Regions from separate parts of the Homo sapiens genome. Here region 1 is linked to region 2. The links are contacts of gene promoters, found by promoter capture Hi-C in human tissues and cell types (Jung and others, 2019). All regions are on one chromosome and are shown on one strand. Each heading gives the region's core, a stretch centred on a gene start or on the middle of the fragment in contact. The rest is flanking DNA. Distances are from core to core; before and after follow the strand shown.

Region 1 (4,994 bases), core at 499-2,998, 530 kb after region 2:
TTTAGCATTTTATTTTGAAATCATTTCAAATTTTCAGAAAAATTGCAAGGATTTTACAAAGAAATCCCAGACACTTCCTTTTGTTCAGACACTTCATTCTTAACATTTTCCCACATTAATCATTTATATGCATATATACATATGTGTCTATATATATTTTCTGAACTATTTGAGAGTGGGTATGTCATGCCTCTTTACCCTATAAAGTTTTAGATTATATCTCATAAAATCAAGAACATTCTGTTAAATATCCATAGCACAGTAATTGAATTCAGGAAATTTATCATTGATTTAATACTTTTATCTGTAGTTCATTTTCCAGTTTGGCCAATTTCCCAATAATTTCCCTTATAGCAATTTTTAATTTTTGGTAGAAGATTCAGTCTAGGACTGTTAATTGCCTTTAGTTTTCATGCTTTTTAAGTCTGTTTAATATGGATTTGTTCCTCAGTGCCATTATAATATTTGAAGAATACAGGCCAGTGATTTTATAGAAGTCTTTAAATTTAGGTTTCCCTGATCTTTCTTCATGATTAGATTTAGACTGAATTTTTGTCTGGAATACTACATGGAACCTCTTAAATTTATGGCTCATAATAGGATCTGTCTTGGGAAAATTCTGTGCATGCCTGAGAAGATGGCTTGTTCTGCTCTGGTTGGGTGGAGTGTTTGATAAATGTTAATGAGATCAAGTTGGTTGGTTGTGTTGTTCAGGTGTACTATATCCTTGTTGATTGTGTGCCCACTTGTATCAATTGTGGGGGAGAGGGGATTGAAATCTGCTGCAGTTGTGGTTCTGTTTCTCTTTGCAATTTTACCACTTTTTGCTTTATGTGTTATATTAGATACATAAATGTTCAAGGTTATTACGTCCTGTTGATTAATTAACCACTTTGTAAAATGGCCTTCCTTATCCCTGCTAATATTCCAGGCTGTGAAATGTACTTTGTTATTTATGAAGCATTCTTTTGAGTAATGCATGCATGCTATATCTTATTCCATCCTTTTACTTTTAACCTATTTGCATCTTTATATCTAAAGTATTATTTCTTGTAGGCAGCAAGATTTGGATCTTGCTTGTTTTCATCAGTCTGTTTCTGTCTCATAATTGGGGATGTATAAACCGTTTACATGTAATGTGATTATTGATAAAACGAGTTAGGTTATAGTCCACTGTCTTTGCTTTCTTTTAGTCTCATCTTCTTTGTTTCTTTTTAAAATGTCTCTGTTTGTCTTCCTTCCTTTTGATTAGTTGAGAATTTTTTATGATTCTACTTTATATCTTTTGTTGGGTTTTTGGCTATCACACTGTTATTATTTTAGTGAGTTAGAATTTATAGTATGCAGCCTTAATTATCATAGTTTATTCTTAAGTAATATACCATTTTTCTTAGAGTAAGAGAAGCTTACAATAGGACACTTCCATTTCTCTCCTCTTGGTCTTTACACCGTTGTTCATTTCATTTTTACAGGTGGTATCAGTGCCACACACTATCTATTACGTTGTTGTTAATTAAACAGTTATCTTTTATTTGTTTATTTATTTATTTATTTATTTAGAGACAGAGTCTCACTCTGTCCCCCAGGCTGGAGTGCAGGGGTGCGATCTCGGCTCACTGCAACCTCTACCTCCTGGGTTCAAGTGATTCTCCTGCCTCAGCCTCCCTCAGCTGGGATTACAGACACCTACCACCACGCCCGGCTAATTTTTGTATTTTTAGTAGAGATGAGGTTTCGCCATGTTGGCCAGGCTGGTTTCGAACTCCTGACCTCAGGTGACCTGTCTGCCTCAGCCTCCCAAAGTGCTGGGATTACAGGTGTGAGCCACCACACTTGGCCCAGGTATCTTTTAAAGAGATTTAAGTAATGAGAGAAAATACACAGTTACCATTTCTGGTACTCTTCATTCCTTTATGTAAATCTAAATTTTTATTTTCTGTCATTTTACTTCTGCCTGAAGGACTTTCTTTAACATTTCTTCTAGTTGATGATGAATTCTTGTAGGTCTGCAAATGTCTTCATTGTGTCTTTGCTTTTAAAGGTGTTTTTGCTGGATTTTTCTCCACAGTGCTTTAAATATGTTTCTCTGTTGTCTTCCTGCTTACATTTTTTTCTAAGAGAAATCTGATCTCATACTCATGTTTGTTCCCCTATATATAACATGTCTTTTTTTCTTCCCCCCTTATTGTTTTAAACTTTTTATCACTAGTTTTGGACAATTTGATTGCAATATGTCATGGTATCTTTTTTTCATGTTTCTGTTTTGGGGATCATTGAACTTCTTGGATCTTGGGTTTATGGTGTCATCACTTGGGGAACATTTTTATCATTATTTCTTCAAGTACCCACCACCTCCCCTCCATTGATTCTTGTTGCCTGTATATTAGGCCACTTGAAATTTTCCCACAACATACTGTTGCTCTTTATTTGCTTTTAATTCTTCTTTCTCTGTTTCATTTTATGTAACTTCTGTTGCTGTCTTTATATTCACTAATCTCTTTTTTCCACGATGCTGTTCATCTTGTCCAGTATAATTTTCATCTCAGATATTGTAGTTTCTATCTGTAGAAGGTTAGCATGGGTCTTTTTCACATCTTGCCTGTCTCAATTTTTTTGAACATTTGGAATAGAATGATGAACTCTCTCAGTGCTCTGTGCCAGTTGTAAACTCTGTGTCAATTCTGGGCCAGTTTTGATGGACTGATTGTTTTCCTTATGGGTTGTAGTTTCCTGCCCATTTTCCCGACTCGCAGCTCTTTCTCCTCACATCTGCCTCTGTTCTTCTTCCCTGCTCCGTGGCCTGGAGTCACTCAAGGCAGAAGTTGATTGGTTCACCTTGTTTATTTCCCATCACTCATAGATAACTCTACTGCCTGATAATCAGTGCCTTGAAAGCCATTGCTTCAGCCCAGGCGTGGTGGCTCATACCTGTAATCACAGCACTTTGGGAGGCCAAGGCAGGCGGATCATGAGGTCAGGAGTTCAAGACCAGCCTGGCCAACATGGTGAAACCCCGTCTCTACTAAAAATACAAAAATTAGCCGGGCGTGCTGGTGCATGCTTGTAATCCCAGCTACTTGGGAGGCTGAGGCAGGTGAATCGCTGGAACTCGGGAGACGGAGGTTGCAGTGAGCCAAGATTGTGCCATCGCACTCCAGCCTGGAAGACAAGAGTGAGACTTTGTCTCATAAAAAACAAAAACAAAAACAAACAAACCATTGCTTCATATATGTTCTCCATTTTATTTTTCTTTCTGTTTTTGATTTTGTTGTTGTTCTTTGGTGTGTGCTGTTTCAGGTTGGAGGGTATATGCAGTACCTGTTAGTTTATCACACCTGAGGGCAGAAGTCCTCATGTCTCTCTCTCTCTATTTTTTCTAATATATATATTTTTTTCTTTGTAGAGACAGGGTCTTGCTATGTTGCCAAGGCTGGTCTCAAGCTCCTGGCCTCAAGCAGTCCTTCTGGCTCAGCTTTCCAGAGTGCTGGGATTACAGGCATGAGCCACCACACCTGGCCTGGGTCCAGTTTTATCCATGTCCAAATATTTTTTTTCCCTGAGCTGTTTTTGATTTTCTTCCACCTCATATGAACTGTAGTGTCGGCTTATCTAGTTCCAGGAAAAAGCTTTTTGGTATTTTTATTGGGATTGTATATTTATAAAGTAATTTAGGGTAACTGATATCTTTGTATTATTACGTTGACCTTAATAATACAACTAATTTTTTTTTTTTGGATTTTTAGTAGAGATGGGGTTTCACCATGTTGACCAGGCTGGTCTTAAACTCCTGACCTCAGGTGATCTGCCCGCCTCAGCCTCCCAAAGTGTTGGGATTACAGGCGTGAGCCACCGTGCCCGAGCACTTTTTTTTTTTTTTTTGAGATGGCGTCTCACTTGTCGCCCAGGCTGGAGTGCAGTGGCACAATCTCAGCTTACTGCAAACTCCGCCTCCTGGGTTCACGTCATTCTCCTGCCTCAGCTTCCCGAGTAGCTGGGACCACAGGCACCCGCCGCCATGCCCGGCTAATGTTTTGTATTTTTAGTAGAGACGGGGTTTCACCATGTTAGCCAGGATGGTCTCGATCTCCTGACCTTGTGATCCGCCCGCCTTGGCCTCCCAAAGTGCTGGGATTACAGGCGTGAGCCACCGCGCCTGGCCGCCCGAGCACTTTTACTTTTCCTTAGTTATATTCCTCTAATTGTTTTCTCTTCTCTAGTTGTAGATAATGAGCATTTTATTAATACCTTGTTCTTGATCTTAGTGGGAAGGTATGTAGTTTTTCCCTGTTAAGTAAAATCCTGACTTTTGGACCAAGAAGACTGAGGCATAAGAGTTTATGTGTGTCCGTGTGTGTGCACGTACATGTGTCTGTGTGTGTATACACACAAACTATATATATGCTTGTGTGTAATTGAAATACATATGTCACATATATATCATATGTACTACTGCATATTAGGGTGTAATATTTATATTTGTATATATACATAATATTGATGTTAATGAAGCATCCATCAGTTTCTGTTTTCTTTAGTTTTTTTAAATCAGGTTTTTCTGTCAAGCTTTTTCAAGTATCTTCATGGATACAAGATTTTTCTTCTTTGCTGTGTTATAGTGGCCTATCATATTAATAGATTTCCAAATACTAAACTAGTCTATATTATTGGAATAAGTCCTATTTGTCTGTTGTATATTATGTTTTTAATCTGGTACTGGATTTTGTTTGGTTATGTTTCATTTTGGGTATTTGTATTGATATAAGTGGTATTGTAGTGGCATGTAATTTTATGTTATTTATTGGCTGATCCATCTTCTAACCCCTCCACCTCCTTGCCTTTTGGACTAACTTAACCTAGAAGGTTATTACTCTCTCTCGGTGATTTTATCAGCTCCTTTGGCCTGCCTGTGGATAAGCTTGGATGTTCTGCTTTAGTTTCTCAGCCCACCAGCCTAGCGGCTCTGACTCTGCTATCTCTTGGGATCTACATGGTCC
Region 2 (4,871 bases), core at 1,677-4,176:
TGGGCAACAGAGCGAGACTCTCAGTAAATAAATAAAAACTGAACTCCTGATATCTTCTCCCTGGTTAAACCCACTCTCTTCTATAAGTCTTGCCTATTTCAGCCCAACTCCAAGGCCCAAAACCTTGGTGTCATCCCCGACCCCTTATCTAATCACACATCAGCAAATCCTTCTGGTACCATCAATGAATACCCAGAATTCAATCATTTCTTACCACCTGCACCTAGATAACCACAATGAACTCCTAACCTACCTTTCTCTCACTCCTAAGACCATCTTGTTAAAATGGAAGGAAGAGCAAGTCATTACGCAGCTGAAAACCCTCAACTGGCCGCCCCATTTCTGAGAAAATACCAAAGTTTTACAAGGCCTGTTCTGTTACCTCCACTGCCTTCTCTGGAACTACCCTAGCCTCATTTTCTCAAACCTTCAAGGCATGCCCCATGCTTCTCCAAGGGCTCTCAGCTACATCCTGAGACATATCCCTTACCTGCAATACTCTTTCCATATGATGTGATCTCTGCTTCCTTCAGACTTTACTCAAACATCTCACTCTGCGTGAGGCCTACCCTGGCTGATGTAAAACTGCTACCCTCGGCTGGGAGTGGTGGCTCACGCCTGTAATCCCAGCACTTTGGGAGGCCAAGGAGGGTGGATCACTTAAGGCCAGGAGTTTGAGACCAGCCTGGCCAACATGGTGAAACCCCATCTCTACTAAAACTACAAAAATTACCCAGCTGTCGTAGCCCTTGCCTGTGATTCCCACCTACTCGGGAGGATGAGGCAGGAGGATAGCTTGAGCCCAAGAGTTGGTTGCAGTGAGCCAAGATGGCGCCACTGCACTCCATCCTGGGCAACAGAGTGGGACTCTGTCAGGTCCATCCTGGCCAACATGGTGAAACCCCATCTCTACTAAAAACACAAAAATTAGCTGGGCACGGTGGTGCGCGCCTGTAGTCCCAGCTATTCGGGAGGCTGAGGCAGGAGAATCGCTCCAACCTGGGAGGTGGAGGCTGCAGTGAACCGAGATCACGCCACTGCACTCCAGCCTGTCGACAGGGCGAGGCACTGCATCAAAAAAAGTAAATAAAATTGGTACCCTCTTCCCTAACACAAGCACCCTACAATCCCCATTTTTCTTGCATGTTCATCACTATTTTAAGATACTTTATAATGAGTGGGGCAATAAGTAAAATATCTAGTAATTTCCGTGAGAGCAGGGACTTCTGTGTTTTGTTCACCGCTGTATTTCCAGTACCTAGCTCAATAAATATGTCGGATATCTGAAGGTCCTACCAAAACTCAACCTCTCCCTGGACACCCCTGTCCTCTCTTTGGTTGGCTGCCCCTCCCCCACACCTCATCCCTCCTGTCCTGTTTACTCATTCCCTAAGACCTTCATCGCCTCCACCTGTCCTAAGTTTACTCATTCCCTAAGACCTTCATCGCTTCCACCTGTCCTAAGTTTACTCATTCCTGTCCCATATCAAGTGTCACTTCTCACTTATCTTGGTATCCCCTGCAGCACCCAGCATAGTTGTTGGCAAGCACAGGTACTTAATGTACTTATCTGTATACAGCTGGGCCCCCACTTCACCGCAGCGCAAAAGCATTTGGTACATTCAACTTACAATGGGGTTGCCTGTGGGAACCCATTGCAAGTTGAAAATACACAAAGTTAAACTCGCCTTTTGACTTAGGATATTACCAACTTGCGATGGGTATGGGAAGTAGCCATCAATCCAGGAGCATTTGTATTTATTTTTCAAATGAACTGGATGTACAGGAAACTCGAGAACTTCGATGATAAATTTGGATTCCCCTTTAAAATTACCTCCCTCTTGGGCGTCGTAATTAAAAGGCAATGCGAGCACCTCCTGGGTTCTCAAAATTAGGTTTAATTAGATTCACCTGGTAAAAATGCGGACCCCCCCCCCCCCCCCCGCAGTCTTAAGCTTCTTCAATGAACCCAGACGTCTGTTTTTTATTAGCTTTCTGGTGATTCTGACACACTGCAGAGTTTAAGAACCACCATTCTAGAAGATGGCTAAAAATAGCCTAGGCTCCTAGGCTTAAGTGGTCGCGGGCCAAGTCAAGCACTGTTAAGACACCTGGCGGCAGGCTCAGTCCGCCCACAGCAGGAGAGATCCTCCAAAAAGGTTAAGAGGAAGCCGTCTTCAGGTCAGAAGCGCTGAATTCTAATCCTCTGGCCAAATGACTGTAACCCTGGCCCAGTTCTCTAGCCTCGGTTTGTCCATACTATGGAATTAGGAAGTATACGATTTCTTTTATTCACGCACAACTCACACGGATGCTGCAAGGAGATTAGCTACGTCAAAGCAATGGAACGCTGCAGAAAAAAACGTAAGTTTACTTTCAGATGCAGAGCCCTGGTTTCCCAACCTTGAAGGCGTGCAAGCCAAGAGCAGGTCCTCTGGGAAATCTGGGAGACCTGGGGGAACCCTGACAAATGGACCGGCCCTGGAGCGGGACTACCTCGCCCCCTTTTCCCCGGCTTTCTCCCCCGCACCTCCAGGCCAGTGTCAGGGCCTGCCCCGGGCGCCACAGTCTCCAGCCAGTGCCGGGCATCCCTGCGGTCCAGGCTGGCCTGGAGAGGGTCAGAGCTGCCCGCGAACCGGGGACGCACGTGGCCCGGGCCGGGGGGCCTCCGCCTGCAGGCCGCCCCTCGTCTGGCCTACCTGGGCCGAGGTGCTGAAGCTGCGGCGGAGAGCAGCGCTGGCAGGCCGGGCGAGGGCGGAGAGCATGGCTGGAGCGGGAGGGGCACCGACTGGCAGGCACAGGAGCTGGTGACGGGGAAGTGACTCCAACGACCTCCACACTGCCCAGCGCCTGCTCTCTGGGGCCTCGCGAGAGTGACCGGACTTCCGGTCGCGCTCGCCTCCGGGATCTCGTGAGATCACGGCCACTTCCGGGAGTCGGAAAGGAAAGCTGTGGGACCATCCTGGCAACCCCGGTGTTTGGCTGGGTTCTAGCGTAGCCGTCTGTGTGGCCGGTGGGGGACCTGCGGTCGGAGTGGGAGGGCCAGTCTGCACCCAAGAGGTGGAAGAGGACGGGCTTTAGGCTGGAAGCGCCTTAGAGGAGCCATTTTTCCAGGTGGGGCCCCAGGCAGAGGCTCCGACAGGGAGCCTGGCCATAGTCGCGCAGCCGGGGAGGTGGAGCGCGTCCCAGACCCGAGCCCCCGACCTCAGCCAAACCCATTCCTTCTGCCCTTGGAGGCCAGAGGGGACTCTGAGCTCCGGAAAGGTAGGGTCAGGGAGGCTGAGAGTCCTTAGGCGGGGTGGGAGGAAGGGGCCATCTCCTCAGATCCGGGCCGTCGTTTCCCAAGTTGCAGAGACCCTTGGGTTCAGGTTTAGTGACACCACTGCTGATAATGGCGACCTCCAGCCCTGCAAGCTTTAGAGGACCACTATTCTGTGTTCCAGATGAGCAAATAGGTTGTAGGGACAACAACTTCCGTGGTCATACAGTTCCTGTCTTCTCTCGCCTGCCCGGCAGTGCTCTGACGGTCCCACTGTTTCTGCTTTACGAATAAAGACACTGTGGCTGAGGCCAAGTGGATTTGTAGAGTTTACGCAGACAGAAAGTCGAGTAGAATTCCTTGCTCACAATGAGTTTATTACTTAAATGTATGAATTTATTTATTTTTTTGAGACGGAGTCTCTCTAGCCCAGGCTGGAGTGCAGTGGCGCGATCTTGGCTCACTGCAACCTCTGCCTGTCAGGTTCAAGTGGTTCTCCTGCCTCATTCTCCTGAGTAGCTGGGATTAGCGCACCACTACACCTGGCTAATTTTTTGTATTTTTTTTTTAGTAGAGACGGGGTTTCACCACGTTGGTCAGGCTGGTCTCGAACTCCTGACCTCGTGATCCACCCGCCTCGGCCTCCCAAAGTGCTGAGATTACAGGCGTGAGCCACCGCGCCCGGCCTGATACATATTTTTAAAATTAAACAACACCCCCAGGCAAGGTGGCTCATGCCTGTAATCCCAGCACTCTGGGAGGCTGAGGCGGGCCGATCACTTGAGGCCAGGAGTTCATGACCAGCCTGGCTAACATGGTGAAACCCCATCTCTACTAAAAATACAAAAATTAGCCCAGCGTGGTGGTGTACACCTGTAGCCCCAACTACTCCGGAGGCTGAGGCAGGAGAATCGCTTGAACCCGGGAGGTGGAGGGAGGTTGCAGTGAGCCGAGATAACCCCACTGTACTCCAGCTTGGGCGACGGAGAAAGACTCTGTCTCAAAAAAAAAAAAAAAAAAAGCCGGGTGTGGTGGCTTATGCCTGTAATCCCAGCACTTTGGGAGGTCAAGGCGGGCAGATCACCTGAGGTCAGGAGTTTGAGACCAGACTGGCTAATGTGGCGAAACCCCATCTCTACTAAATATACAAAAATTGGCTGGGCATGGTGGCGTGTGCCTGTAGTCCCAGCTACTCAGGAGGCTGAGGCAGGAGAATCCCTTGAACCCAGGAGGTGGAGGTTGCTGTGAGCCAAGATTGTGCCATTGTACTCCATCCTGGGTGATAAGAGCTAAACTCCGGCTCAAAAGCGCGCGCGCGCGCGCGCGCACACACACACACACACACACACACACACACACACACACACACACACACACACACACACACACACAGCAGATAAGCTGAGACATGCTGGAAGAGTAGGTGTTTCTCAATGGAACATTCAACTCCAGAGGAGGGAAAGATCCCTTGCCTTGGAATCAGAATTCTCAAAGGAGGGGCACTAGGGCCTGAGCATTTAACAATGGGAAATGTTTAGACAGGAAAGGAGGAGAAAAAAGGCCAAATAAAATCCTAGCGGGAAAAAATAAGCATAGGCCAGTATTCAGGGGA

Evidence for each region. The method cuts DNA at HindIII sites, captures the fragments that hold promoters and counts their contacts. A contact is called where the count stands out against the background at its distance.
Region 1: a contact is called between a fragment that was not itself captured here and the fragment with the promoter of STYXL1 in region 2, in 1 of the 25 tissues and cell types used here (dorsolateral prefrontal cortex).

What each region holds. Positions count from the first base shown.
Region 1 is chr7:75,517,548-75,522,541 of GRCh38, reverse strand. It overlaps the pseudogene PMS2P3. Among named protein-coding and RNA genes, the nearest start is that of SPDYE5, 28 kb to the right of the region's middle. The HindIII fragment of the contact is 4,690 bases long and covers 1-4,093 here.
Region 2 is chr7:76,046,055-76,050,925 of GRCh38, reverse strand. STYXL1 (serine/threonine/tyrosine interacting like 1) reads left to right here and starts at 2,926. Exons shown (of 9, transcript NM_001317785.2): 1 at 2,926-3,264. MDH2 (malate dehydrogenase 2) reads right to left here and starts at 2,820. Exons shown (of 9, transcript NM_005918.4): 1 at 2,700-2,820. The coding sequence starts at 2,765. RefSeq lists enhancers at 1,889-2,670, 2,946-3,025, 3,136-3,225, 2,671-3,453 and a silencer at 2,536-2,695. The HindIII fragment of the contact is 5,088 bases long and covers 165-4,871 here.